Linked DNA regions of Homo sapiens: region 2 is linked to region 1. Evidence: promoter capture Hi-C in 16 types of primary human blood cells and fetal thymus (Javierre and others, 2016). All regions are on one chromosome and are shown on one strand. The core of a region is centred on a gene start or on the middle of the fragment in contact, and the rest is flanking DNA. Distances in the headings are between cores, read along the strand shown.

Region 1 (5,947 bases), core at 2,009-4,508:
AGCCTGACCAACATGGCAAAACCCTGTCTCTACTAATAATACAAAATTAGTCAGGCGTGGTGGCACATGCCTGTAATCCCAGCGACTCAAGAGGCTAAGGCGGGAGAATCGCTTGAACCTGGGAGGTGGAGGTTGCGGTGAGCCAAGTTCCTGCCATTGCACTCCAGCCTGGGCAACAAGAGCAAAACTCCGTCTCGAAAAAAAAAAAAAAAAAAGCCAGGCGTGGTGGCTCACGCCTGTAATCCCAGCACTTTTGGAGGCTGAGGCAGGCAGATCATGAGGTCAGGAGTTCGAGACCAGCCTGGCCAACATAATGAAACCCTATCTCTATTAAAAGATACAAAAAATTAACTGGGTGTGGTGGCACACACCTGTAATCCCAGCTACTTGGGAGGCTGAGGCAGGAGAATCACTTGAACCAGGCAGGCGGAGGTTGCATGAGCCGAGATTGCACCATTGTACTCCAGCCTGGGCGACGGGACCGACAGGGATCTGGGCATCTGCCCGCCACACCTGTCCTCCTGGGAGGCTGGGAGGCCTGGGGCCCCCACTCTCAAAGCCTACCCTTCCGGCCACTGTCTCTCTACAGTTATAGAGCAAAGGCCCCCGACCCAACCCTGCCGCCGTCACCAGAGGAGCAGCCCCACAAGCCCCCACAGCGTGGTCACACCTGGCTTGGGGGACAGCCGCACCCCACATGCAAGGTAGCCCTTGGGAACTTCTGCTCCAGATGCACCAGGTGGGGAAGGCCAGAGCTGGCCATTCAGGGTTTTTTAGGGCCAGACAAGAGCAAGGCCCTGTGTCTGCCCGGGAGGTAGAGCAGACCACACTGGCCCCATGCACAGGGGCTCTTTGGGTCCCTCGTCCCATCTTTCCAGCTCCTTCCAACTTTGCCCCCTGGACATTTCTTGCTCTGACCCTCCCTTCCCTTATTCCTGGCCTTGTCTCCCCCTGGGCCCAGGCCTTCCCAGACTGACTGGACAAATTAGCAAGCAATCACCAGCTTTGGCTTCTGCAGGGTCCAGACAGGCCAGGAGAACGGCTGGTGAACCCACCGGACAGCAGGGCGGTTTCTGGTGCACACATCGGGATGTGAAGTTGTACCCCATGTCTGCAGCTTGGACCTCACCACTGCTGTGTCTGGGCCGCAGGGAGCTGTTCTGGCACGTGACTCAGCCGTGGGATGTTCGGGTGACTTCCTGTCTGAAACCTGCTCTCCTGTTGGTGAGGGATTCTCTGGGTATGAATCGCTTTGCTGGGGTCAGAGCAGGGAGAGCCATCTCCCTGACGGGCTTCTCAGAGACAACACCCCAGGTGCCGCACAGCCCGGGGCAGCCTCCACTGGTCCCGAAGGCCCGGTGGGAATAGGCAGGGCCAGTCCACACCCCCAGGCTGTCAGTGTTTGGACTCCCAGGCTCCTGCCTGCCCTCCACCCCAGCCTGGCTTCTCCACCTGGCAGGGGCAGGGGAGCCGGTACACGGCTGCCAACCCCCCAGTTCATACCCACAGCTCCTGCCACCCAAGGGACCCAACTTTCCTTTCCCAGACCCCAGTGAAGGACCCAAAGAGAGGATTCAACTGACCTCACTTGAATCGGCTATTCCCGGACTGCCTGGCAAAGGCCAGAAGGCATGGAGGGTGACAATGGCCTGAGCCGGGTCCGCATGTCACTCCTGGACCCCTCACCGGGGGCGCAGAGGAGGCCTGGTGAACGTGACAGACCACCCAGTGGGGCGCAGGACGGGGCAGGTCCTAGGAGGCTGCTGGGGCCAGCGACAGGAACCCACAGCTGTCCCTGGCCATCACCCCCACTGGCCTGATGTGGGCTTCGTCTATTGCTGCTCCGAGGGTGGGGCTGCCCTGGCCCAAAGACCCGGGAGGCCAGTGACCCCATGAGCAGTGGCCTGTGGAGGCGTGTGTTTGCACCAGATCCCCTAGAGGATCACTGTCCCCTGGGCAAGTGTTTCTGGAAAGCCAAGGTAGGCCCTGCCCTGAGACCTGCGCCTCCCCGCCAGGGCAATGGGAAAGCCCAGCTTTCCAGGGACTCCACTGCCACCCACACAAAACCCTCTGAAATCGCTGTTCGGAGGCAGCCTCCAGCCATGCGGCCCTGCAGCAGGGGGCAGCTGTGATCCACGTGTCTGGGGGAAAGTGTAGACTGGGGGCTCGGCCTCCACCGGCCTCTCCTGGCCGTGGGTGTACCCACCCAGGATGGCGGCTTCTTCGCTCAGTGACCGTCCCTGCTGCGGTGCTGGGCAGTGTCGCTTGGAGACATTTGTGGTCCCCAGCTCCTTCCCTCAGCCCGGCCCTGTCCCCACTGCTGAAAGAGCCTGGCTTGGATGGAGCTTGGCAGGCTCGGGAGTGGGCACCAGGGTGGGTCTGTGCCCTGAAACTCAGAAGCAGCCTGGAGGTGAGTGGAGTTGTAGGTGCTGTCCACAGCCAGCTGGCTTTGTCCAAGGAAACTGGGCCCATCATGGCCGGAAGCCCCACAGTGAGGGGGACTGTCCCAGGCAACCCTGCCTGCCCACCCTCCAGTTCCCACAGGGCCCCTCACAGAGAAGCCCACCCGCAGGGCTCCTGGGCCAGGCCAGGCTTGGTTCTGGATGCAGGAGGGGTTGAGGTAGGGCTGGGGGAGGAATGTGGAGTGTGCAGTAGGCTGTTCTTCCCACACGGCCCTGCCCCATGTAGGAAGAGGGAGGCGGGGAGGGGAGGGTGCTTGTGTGCAGTGGCTGTGCCGAGCCTTCCAGGACATGCAGGTGCCATCCTGGTCCCGGGGCTGCAGTGGGCGCACTCAGCCTCTCTACTCCTGGCACCCCGGACAGGGACTCCTGGGAGGACACAGCCTCTGGGAAGTCACCCTGCTCCGTGCTTGCCTGGCCCGAGAGTGGGCAACACCAGGCCTGAGCTGCAGAGGAGCTGGATTTTGTCTTTCCAGGACCCCTCCCTGCAGCCTTTCCAGGACCCCTGTCCTGCCTTGCCTGTCTGGGGACACACGGACAGCCGCTGTGCCGCGCCAGGCCCCAGCACCTGCCTGGGAGCTCCTGAGTGAGTGGAGCCTGGCTCTGAGTGCTGCTATTGCTAAAAGAGGTAAGACTGGGGTTTCCTGCCACTCCCTCCCTCAGGAAGGTGACGAGGCCATGCTGTCATCACCAGTAAGATACCCCAGCCCGGTTGGCTAACCCCTAGCTCAGCCCTGTTTGTGGTTAGGGGAGTTCTAGACAGAACATAATTAGACCCCTGCTACTTCCTGAAACCTCAGCTAGGACTGCAGGGAGGGGTGCGAGGCTAGCCACGCAGGCGGGGCCCTGGGTAAGTCGCTGGGCTCTGCGTGCTGGGGAGTGGGCCTGGGGGGCCAGGCTCTGGGATGGGGCTGGGGGCTGGGAGCTGGAGGCGGGCAGAGGGGGATCTGAAGGCAAAGGTGATTTGTTGGTAAAGATGGAGGCTTTGTTGAGGGTTCTTAATCTGGGGTCCCTCCCGAGAGAACCCAGGACCCCCAGTGACCACAGATGTGATGGGGCCGGAGGATTTGGGGGAGAGGGACAACAGTTTCCATTGTATCTTTGTCACCGCCACCTTCCTGGAGACTTTCTTCTGGAAAAGGCTTCCCTGGCTACTGGTCCAGATGGGGGTGAGTCAGGGGGCTGGACTTTGTCCCTGGAATCTCTCCTTGGCCACTTGCTTCCGTGATTGGTCGGGGGGCACTGAAGGGCTGGGCTTCTCTCTGTGGGGCCTGTGCTGCTTGTGGGGTTACACAGAGGGAAAAGCAGGGCAGTGGGGGCTGTGCTGCGGTGAGTGGCAGTTGGCCCAGTCACGTGACAAGATCCTGGAGCTGGGCAGGTCACCGGCCTTTGGAGTGGCGTTCGGCGCACCAGGCACAGCGGGGCGGGGGGCCCAATACCTTCTGTCAAGTGCATGACGTGGGTCTGTACCACTGCAAGGGACTGGGACTGACCACTGAAGACTGGCCAGTTGGGCTGAGCACAAAATGATATTTCAGGAGATTGGCCAGGCCGAGGTGGGAGAGCAGAGGCTCCTGGAAGAAGATGAGGATAGGGGCTGGGCACGGTGGTTCATGCCTGTAATCCCAGCACTTTGGGAGGCCGAGGTGGGCGGATCACTTGAGGTCAGGAGTTTGAGACCAGCCTGACCAACATGGTGATACCCTGTCTCTACTAAAAATACAAAAATTAGCCGGGCGTGTTGGCACACGTCTGTAATCCCAGCTACTTGGGAGGCCGAGGCAGGAGAATCGCTTGAACCTGAGAGGCGGAGCTTGCAGTGAGCCGAGATCGCGCCATTGCACTCTAGCCTGGGCAACACTATCAAATTGGGAAAAATAAGAAAGTTGACAATGGGCTTTGGATGGGTGTGGTGGAGCAGGGAGGTTGGAGCTGGTGACTCCACATTTCCCTCCCTAGGGTTTGTCTCAAACGTGACGGCAGAAAAGAGGTCATAGGTTTGCCTGGTGCCAAAGCAGGTGGGAGTAAAAGACGGAAATGGCTAGGAATGGCCAGCAACCGTGAAACAGCTTAGAAATTACAGGCAATCCAGCCAGGTGCGGTGGCTTACGCCTGTAATCCCAGCACTTTGGGAGGCCAAGGCAGGTGGATCACCTGAGGTCAGGAGTTCGAGACCAGCGTAACCAATATGGTGAAACCCTGTCTCTACTAAAAATACAAAATTAGCCGGGCGTGGTGGCACACGCCTGTAATCCCATTTACTTGGGAGGCTGAGGCAGGAGACTCACTTGAACCCAGGAGGTGGAGGTTGTGGTGAGCCGAGATCGTGCCATTGCACTCCAGCCTGGGCAACGAGAGCGAAACTCTGTCTCAAAAAAAAAAAGAAAGAAAGAAATTACAGATAGTCCACAAGACAGACCTCAGCAGCCTGAGGAGCTGTTTTTGACAAATGGGCTGGAATGAGGAACTGCTCCCTGCACATGGCAGGGGCCAGGGCTCCTTCTCTGTCCTTTTGTGTCTGTCTGAAAAGTTCCATCATAAGTTACAAAACAGGCTGGGCGTGGTGGCTCACACCTGTAATCCCAGCACTTTAGGAGGCCGAGGCGGGCGGATCACCTGAGGTCAGGAGTTCAAGACCAGCCTGACCAATATGGCGAAACCCCTTCTCTACTAAAAATACAAAAAATTAGCCGGGCATGGTGGCAGGCGCCTGCTAATCCCAGCTACTTCAGAGGCTGAGGCAGGAGAATCACTTGAACCCGGGAGGCAGAGGTTGCAGTGAGCCAAGATCGTGCTATTGCACTCCAGCCTGGGCAACGAGAGAGAAACTCAGCCTAAAAAAAAAAAAAAAGTTACAAAATAGATTTTAAAAGACTGGAGGAGCACAGCAACTTGCAGGCCAGAGAGCTCCAGGGACAGTGGCTGGGTGAGGTCATGCTAGATCCTGTTATTGAAATGTCCATCCCAGGAACATGTGGTGCTTCTCTAATCTGGAAAATGGATTCATTGGCCGGGCATGGTGGCTCACGCCTGTATTCCCAGCACTTTCGGAGACCGAGGCCGGCGGATTTCTTGAGCCCAGGAGCTCGAGACCAGCCTGGGTAACATAGGGAAACCTCGTCTCTAAGAATAAAAGTACAAAAATTAACTGGGCATGGCAGCAGGTGCCTGTAGTCCCAGTTACTCGGAAGGGAGGATGATGTGAGCCTGGGAGGTGGAGGTTTCAGTGAGCAGAGATTTTGCCACTGTACTCCAGCCTGGATGAGGGAGCAAGACCCTGTCTCCAAATAAATAAATAAACAAACAAACAAACAAATAAAGCAAGAGAGAGAGGGAGAGGGTTAGGGAGAGAGAGAGAGAACAATTTTAATAGTATTTAAAGAAAAAAAAGCTGGGCGTAGTGGCTCACACCGTAATCCCAGCACTTTGGGAGGCTGAGGCAGGAGGATCATTGGAGCCCAGGAGTTCAAGACCTGCCTAGGCAACAT
Region 2 (5,947 bases), core at 2,031-4,530, 290 kb before region 1:
TCTGACCGGTCAGCACCCACCCACACTAAGGACCCCCACCAGCCAAAGGGTTACAACTCCCCGAAGGCTCAGATGATTGTTAGCTTTTTCTTTTCTTTTTTTTTTTTTTTTGAGAGGAAGTCTTACTCTGTCACCCAGGCTAGAATGCAGTGGCGTGATCTCGGCTCACTGCAACCTCCGCCTCCCGGGTTAAAGTGATTCTCCTGCCTCCCCTCCCTAGTAGCTGGGATTACAGGTGTGAGCCACGACGCCCGGCTAATTTTTTTTTGTATTTTTAGTAGAGACGACATTTCACCATATTGGCCAGGCTGGTTTCGAACACCTGACCTCAGGTGATACGCCCGCCTTGGCCTCCCAAAGTGCTGGGATTACAGGCATGAGCCACCGCACCCAGCTTTAGCAATATTTTAAAATTAATGTATGTATATATTTTTTGACGTAATGCTATTGCACACTTAACAGACTACAGTACAGTGTAAACATAACTTTTATATGCACTGAAAAACCACGAAATTTGTGTGACTCACTTTATTTCAATATCCGTTTTTATTGGGGTGGCCTAGAACTGAACACACAATATCTTCAAGGTCAGCCTATATGAGAGACAGCCTCCTGCTCCTAGGCCACAGACCTGTAAAGCATGTTACTGTACTGAATACTGTAGGCAATTGTTACAGATGGTAAGTATTTATGTGTCTAAACACATTTAAACACAGAAAAAGTAGGCTGGGCACGGTGGCTCATGCTTGAAATACCAACACTTGGCCGGGTACAGTGGCTCACGCCTGTAATCCCAGCACTTTGGGAGACCAAGGTGGGCGGATCGCGAGGTCAGGAGATCGAGACCATCTTGGCTAACACGGTGAAACCCCGTCTCTACTAAAAATACAGAAAATTAGCCAGGCGTAGTGGCGGGCGCCTGTAGTCCCAGCTACTCGGGAGGCTGAGGCAGGAGAATGGCGTGAACCTGGGAGGTGGAGGTTGCAGTGAGCTGAGATTGCGGCACTGCACTCCAGCCTGGGCGACAGAGCGAGATTCTGTCTCAAAAAAAAAAAAAAAAAAAAAAGAAAGAAATACCAACACTTTGGGAGGCCCAGATAGACAGATCACTTGAGGTCAGGAGTTCAAGACCAGCCTGGACAACAGGGTGAAACCCTGTCTCCACTAAAAATAAAAAAATTAGTTGGGTGTGGTGATGAGCACCTGTAATCCCAACCACTCGGGAGGCGGAGGAAGGAGAATCACTTGAACCCGGGAGGTGGAGGTTGCAGTGAACTGAGATCGCGCCACTGCACTATAAAAGTGAAACCACATCACGAAAAAAATTTAAAAATAAAAAGCAAAAAAAAAAAAGCACAGTAAAAATAAAGTATAAAAGACATTAAGTGGTGCCTGTGAATAGGGCACTGACGATGGCAGAGCCTGCGGGGCTGGAGGTGGCTCTGGACAAGCTGGTGGGTGAGTGAGTAATGCGAAGGCCTGGGAGGTCACCACGCACCGCCGCGTAGGGGTGGACGTGTGTGTGGATGCGAAGGCCTGGGAGGTCGCCATGCACCGCCGTGTAGGGATGGACGTGTGTGTGACCAGGCCCTGGACACCTGGGCCACACTGAGTTCACACAGGAATAAAGTAACTGTGCTATGGTGTTACGATGGCTACCATGTCATCAGGAGATAGGAAGTGTCCAGTGCCATCATATTCTCACGGGGCCACCCATTGATATGCAGCCCACACCTGACTGGGCTGTCATCAGCAGCCTGTGGCTGTGCAGACACTCATAGAGAGAAACTAAAGGGAATCCAGCATGCAAACGGTCAGGGTGACGCTCCCGCGCTGTCCTTACCCTGAGGTCTTCCTGTGTCCCACCATGAGCCGCCCGCCCCTCACAGGTCCCCTTGGGCTGGACCTGGCCCCAGTGGCATGTGCAGCTTGTGGCGAGGCCACAAGAGGAGTCCGGCTGTGCAAAGAAGCATGGCTGCTCCCTCAGCCACCACCGCACTCCCAGGTCACCCCTTCGCCTGGTCATGGGTCTGTCAACCTTCCTGTCTTGTCGGGGAGCCCACAGGCCCCAGCCTCAGACAATGGCCACCAGCTGGCATGCCTGCGTCTCCCAGGCTGCAGCCCCAGGGTGGTCTGGCCACACGAACGCCCACCCCTACACACTCCCTCTACGGGTGCTGGGGTGAGTTCTGAGAGCCACACCACAGGAGAAGGCCCCACGTCTGCCCCCACCGCACACCTGCCTCTGCGGAGCTGCCTCTGAGAGGGACCACCTGCAGTCAGCTCAAGCTTCCTGAGAAGTGGCAGGCAGAGGCGCGTGCCCAGCAGGCCCTGGGGCTGCGGTCACTCCTGATGGTCCCAGCCAGAACTGCTGGTCAGCCTGCAGACCTAAGCCACCCCACGCCGGCGTCCAGCTCCTGGCACCCATGAGGCCCGGCCCCTACCCTGGGCCACCTTGGACTCCACTTCCTCAGCCTCAGAGTAAGTCCAGGGCTCTGGGCCTCAGCTCACACAGAATGAGTGCCAGGTGAGGGCAGAGCTATGGTGTGGCAGGGGCCCAGGCTGCTCCCAGCCCCTCCTGCCCCCTGCGTGTGCACCCATTTGAAGGGAGATGACACCTGTGTCCCCACAGCCATCGCCTCCTGGTCTCCCCACAGCCTGGAGGTCCTGGGCAGGTGCCCCCCACATCCTCTCCCACCACACTCTCAGCCCTGGCCTCGAGTCCGCCCAACAGCCCGCCTCACCCCACCCTGTGCCCTCAAGGACCCTTCCCCACCGCCGAGCACTACTCTCAAATGCATGGCGCCAGCCTCACCGACACCCCACTCTCACGACAGTCCCTATGGCAGCACCCATGCCCTCACCCCCGTCTCAGGCGTGCAGTCTCGGAGCCAGCAAGCCCCCATGGCACAGCTGCCTGAGCCCAGCTGGTGAGAGCCCCCCACCTCTGCCACCTGTGTCCGTCTGTGCCCTCGGGGCTGTCCCGCCTCCGCAATCTCCCGTGCTCATACTCTCAACAAGCCAGCAACGCTCACAGGTGGGAACCAGCCCCAAAAGGTGGCAGGACACAGGGAGCCCATGAACCGCCCTGGTGCTCGGGGACACATGGGAGGACCCAACTAGGTTCTGGGACCAGGCTGCCAGTGGAAGGTGGAAGGATGCCCCGAGGGCCTGGAGGAGATGCTGGAGGGGAGAGCGAGGAGCAGTCAGATGACCTCGGCTTTGGAAGCCACAGGTGCAGGGCGAGGGAGCCTTGGGGTGGGGGCCACAGGCTCAGGGGCAGGGCACTGGAACTACATCCAGGGGTGGGGCTTTTCTGCCAAGAGTGAAGAACAGATGATGGGATTTCAAGCAGCAGACGATGTGGCTGGTGTGACCTGGGGTGGGGGAAGGTTGCTCCAGCCTCTCCCCGGGGATCAGGAGGGGACAGCCCAAGGCTGGGAGGACAGGTGAGGGAGGGGCCTGGGAGCAGAGGCCAGCATTCAGGGCAAGGACGTCAAACACAGAAGCACCAGTGCTGAGAGGGGCTGGGAGGAGCCGCCTGGGGCACTGGGGTGCAGACTGAGAGATGTGGGCGGAGCAGCCTGGGGCAGGAGCTCACAGGGACCGGCAGGGATCAGCAGGACATCACCTGCATGGCTACACAGGGACCAGCAGGGATCAGCAGGACATCGCCTGCATGGCTAATGGGAAACACAGGGACCGGCAGGGATCAGCAGGACATCGCCTGCATGGCTAATGGGAAACACAGGGACCAGCAGGGATCAGCAGGACATCGCCTGAATGGCTAATGGGAAACACAGGGACCGGCAGGGATCAGCAGGACATCGCCTGCATGGCTAATGGGAAACACAGGGACCGGCAGGGATCAGCAGGACCTCGCCTGCATGGCTAATGGGAAACACAGGGACCGGCAGGGATCAGCAGGACCTCGCCTGCATGGCTAATGGGAAACACAGGGACCGGCAGGGATCAGCAGGACCTCGCCTGCATGGCTAATGGGAAACAGAGCCTGCATGACCTCCCCACAGTGCCTGGACCCTCCTGCTCCACAGGAAGCAAGCGGTGGCTCCCAGGAGGCTCTCACAGCCCAGAGAGCATCCCTGAGCTACCTGTTCACCCATCGCTCAGCCTGCAGGAGGGAGGCTGGGATGATGGGCAGCTCCAGGCCACCAGAGGGGTCCCAGGGCCCTGGGAAGTGCAGCCTGGAGGCCCGGTCCACCCGTGCTGTCCGTGGTTTGCCGAAGGAATCGGGAAGACTGCAAAGCTTGTCTGAGGCCCTGCGGCGGCACGGAGAAGCGAGGCCTCGGGACGCCACTGCTGCTTCCTGTACCCTCCACGCTCCCATCTCCTGGGGTAGCAGGGAGGGCTGAGCCCAGAGTAGTACTTGGCACTTGTCCTGGATGCGTAAGTGGGGGTGTGTGAGGATCTGGGGGACCTAGCGCTTGACCTGGGAGACAGGAGGCCTGCAGGCTGGGCCTGGGGGTGTGGGGGAACCAGCTACAAGTGGGCACCCCCACTGTCCCAGCCCCAAGCCCCAGGAGCAGGGGGACAAAGTGGGAAGAAGAGGGGCTGGGGGGCTCTGGCATCTCCGGCTCCCAATGAGGGGCTGCGCTGGCTGACCTTCCCAGGCCCCAGGCAGGCAGCAACCCAGCTTCACATGCCCCAAGCACCACTCACGCCCGCAGCCCCTGGACCCCTGAACACAACCCCACGATGGGGAAAGTTCTGAAGCAAAAGAGACAAACTGGTCTGGGGCCCTGGGCTGCCCCTTCTCCCAGAGCCAATCTTGCAGCCCCGAAAGGGTCCATGAGAAAGTCCGAGGCCTCAGCCTGGGGTGTCTTCTCCCAGGCCCCCACGCCCTACTGCAGCCTCCTTGGAACGCTGGGTTCTCTGGAGCAAGGTGGGCTGCTGCTTGGCTGTTTCTTTTCCTTTTGAGGTACTTCCCCTTCTTTCCCCTCCAGGGAACTCCAGCCACCCCTCTGACCTCTGGGTGCTGCCCCCGCCCTGCTCGGGTATTGTCGCTAGCCCCTTCACAGAACTGACACCTGTCCTGCTCCTGCTCAGCCAATCCTGGGCCAGAGCACGTGCTGAGCAGGATGCAGACACGAACCCATCACAGGACGCACCCGTGGTGTGGGGACAGCAGCGATTCCTCCATGGGAAGGACTCCAGAGCAGCCTGACCCAAAACCCAGCCTCCACTGAAGGGCAGGACAGGCTCGTTAGAGGGGAGTGCGCGCGGCTGCAGGCATGCGGGGAGCCATGCTAGGCGGCAAGGGAAGGTCAGAGAGGAAGCACCACCTGGGGCCGCACCTGGCCCTTATGGCGGAGCCCGGCCGCCCAGGCTCCTCTCATCATTTTCACCTGATCCCTGGACATCTGGACCCGGGAGAGACATCTCCATCTCCCACGGGCGAATGCTCTGGCACCCAGGTGGCCAGCCCGACGCAGGCCACGCCAGACGGAGCACTCACCTCAGCCATGCTGATGGAGCCCGCGGCCAGCGTCTTGTAGCCCAGGATGGTTCTGTTCTTGTAGCGCTTTCTGCGCTGCAGCATGATCTGAAGCTTGTTGCCTTCCCTCTTCAAGAAGTGAGGATACTGTGGGCACAAGTGCGAGTGGCAGCTGAGGGTGCACCGGGGCCCCAGGCAGCATCACGGCCTCTGACGGCCCAGCCACCCTGCAGCCTGCGACCAGGCCAACCTGCTGCCCATGAGATCGGAAGGGCACCCACAGACGGGCCCCCAAGTTCATCCCAGTGGCATGCCGGTCCCCAGAGCCCATCCTTTACCCAACACAATCAAGAGTGAGCCAGTCGCCAGAGCTCAGGCCCTGAGGGCTCCGCGCCACGCTAACAGCCATGGCAGGTGGACAAGGACTATGTGCTGCAGTGTCCGGGATGGCCGAGCGCGCCTGTGGACACTCGGAAACAGTGTGGCGGCTCA

What was found. The method cuts DNA at HindIII sites, captures the fragments that hold promoters and counts their contacts. A CHiCAGO score of 5 or more calls a contact.
Region 2: a fragment that was not itself captured here is called in contact with the fragment with the promoter of GPR132 in region 1 in 2 of 17 cell types (non-activated CD4 T cells and naive CD4 T cells); the score reaches 5.5 in non-activated CD4 T cells.

What each region holds. Positions count from the first base shown.
Region 1 is chr14:105,062,741-105,068,687 of GRCh38, reverse strand. GPR132 (G protein-coupled receptor 132) reads left to right here and starts at 3,258. Exons shown (of 4, transcript NM_013345.4): 1 at 3,258-3,309. RefSeq lists enhancers at 2,110-2,179, 2,390-2,559, 2,235-2,752, 4,430-4,569, 4,680-4,779 and 1 more. The HindIII fragment of the contact is 11,012 bases long and covers 1-5,947 here.
Region 2 is chr14:105,354,707-105,360,653 of GRCh38, reverse strand. PACS2 (phosphofurin acidic cluster sorting protein 2) reads right to left here. Exons shown (of 25, transcript NM_001100913.3): 4 at 5,477-5,602. Among named protein-coding and RNA genes, the nearest start is that of TEX22, 41 kb to the left of the region's middle. The HindIII fragment of the contact is 1,978 bases long and covers 2,292-4,269 here.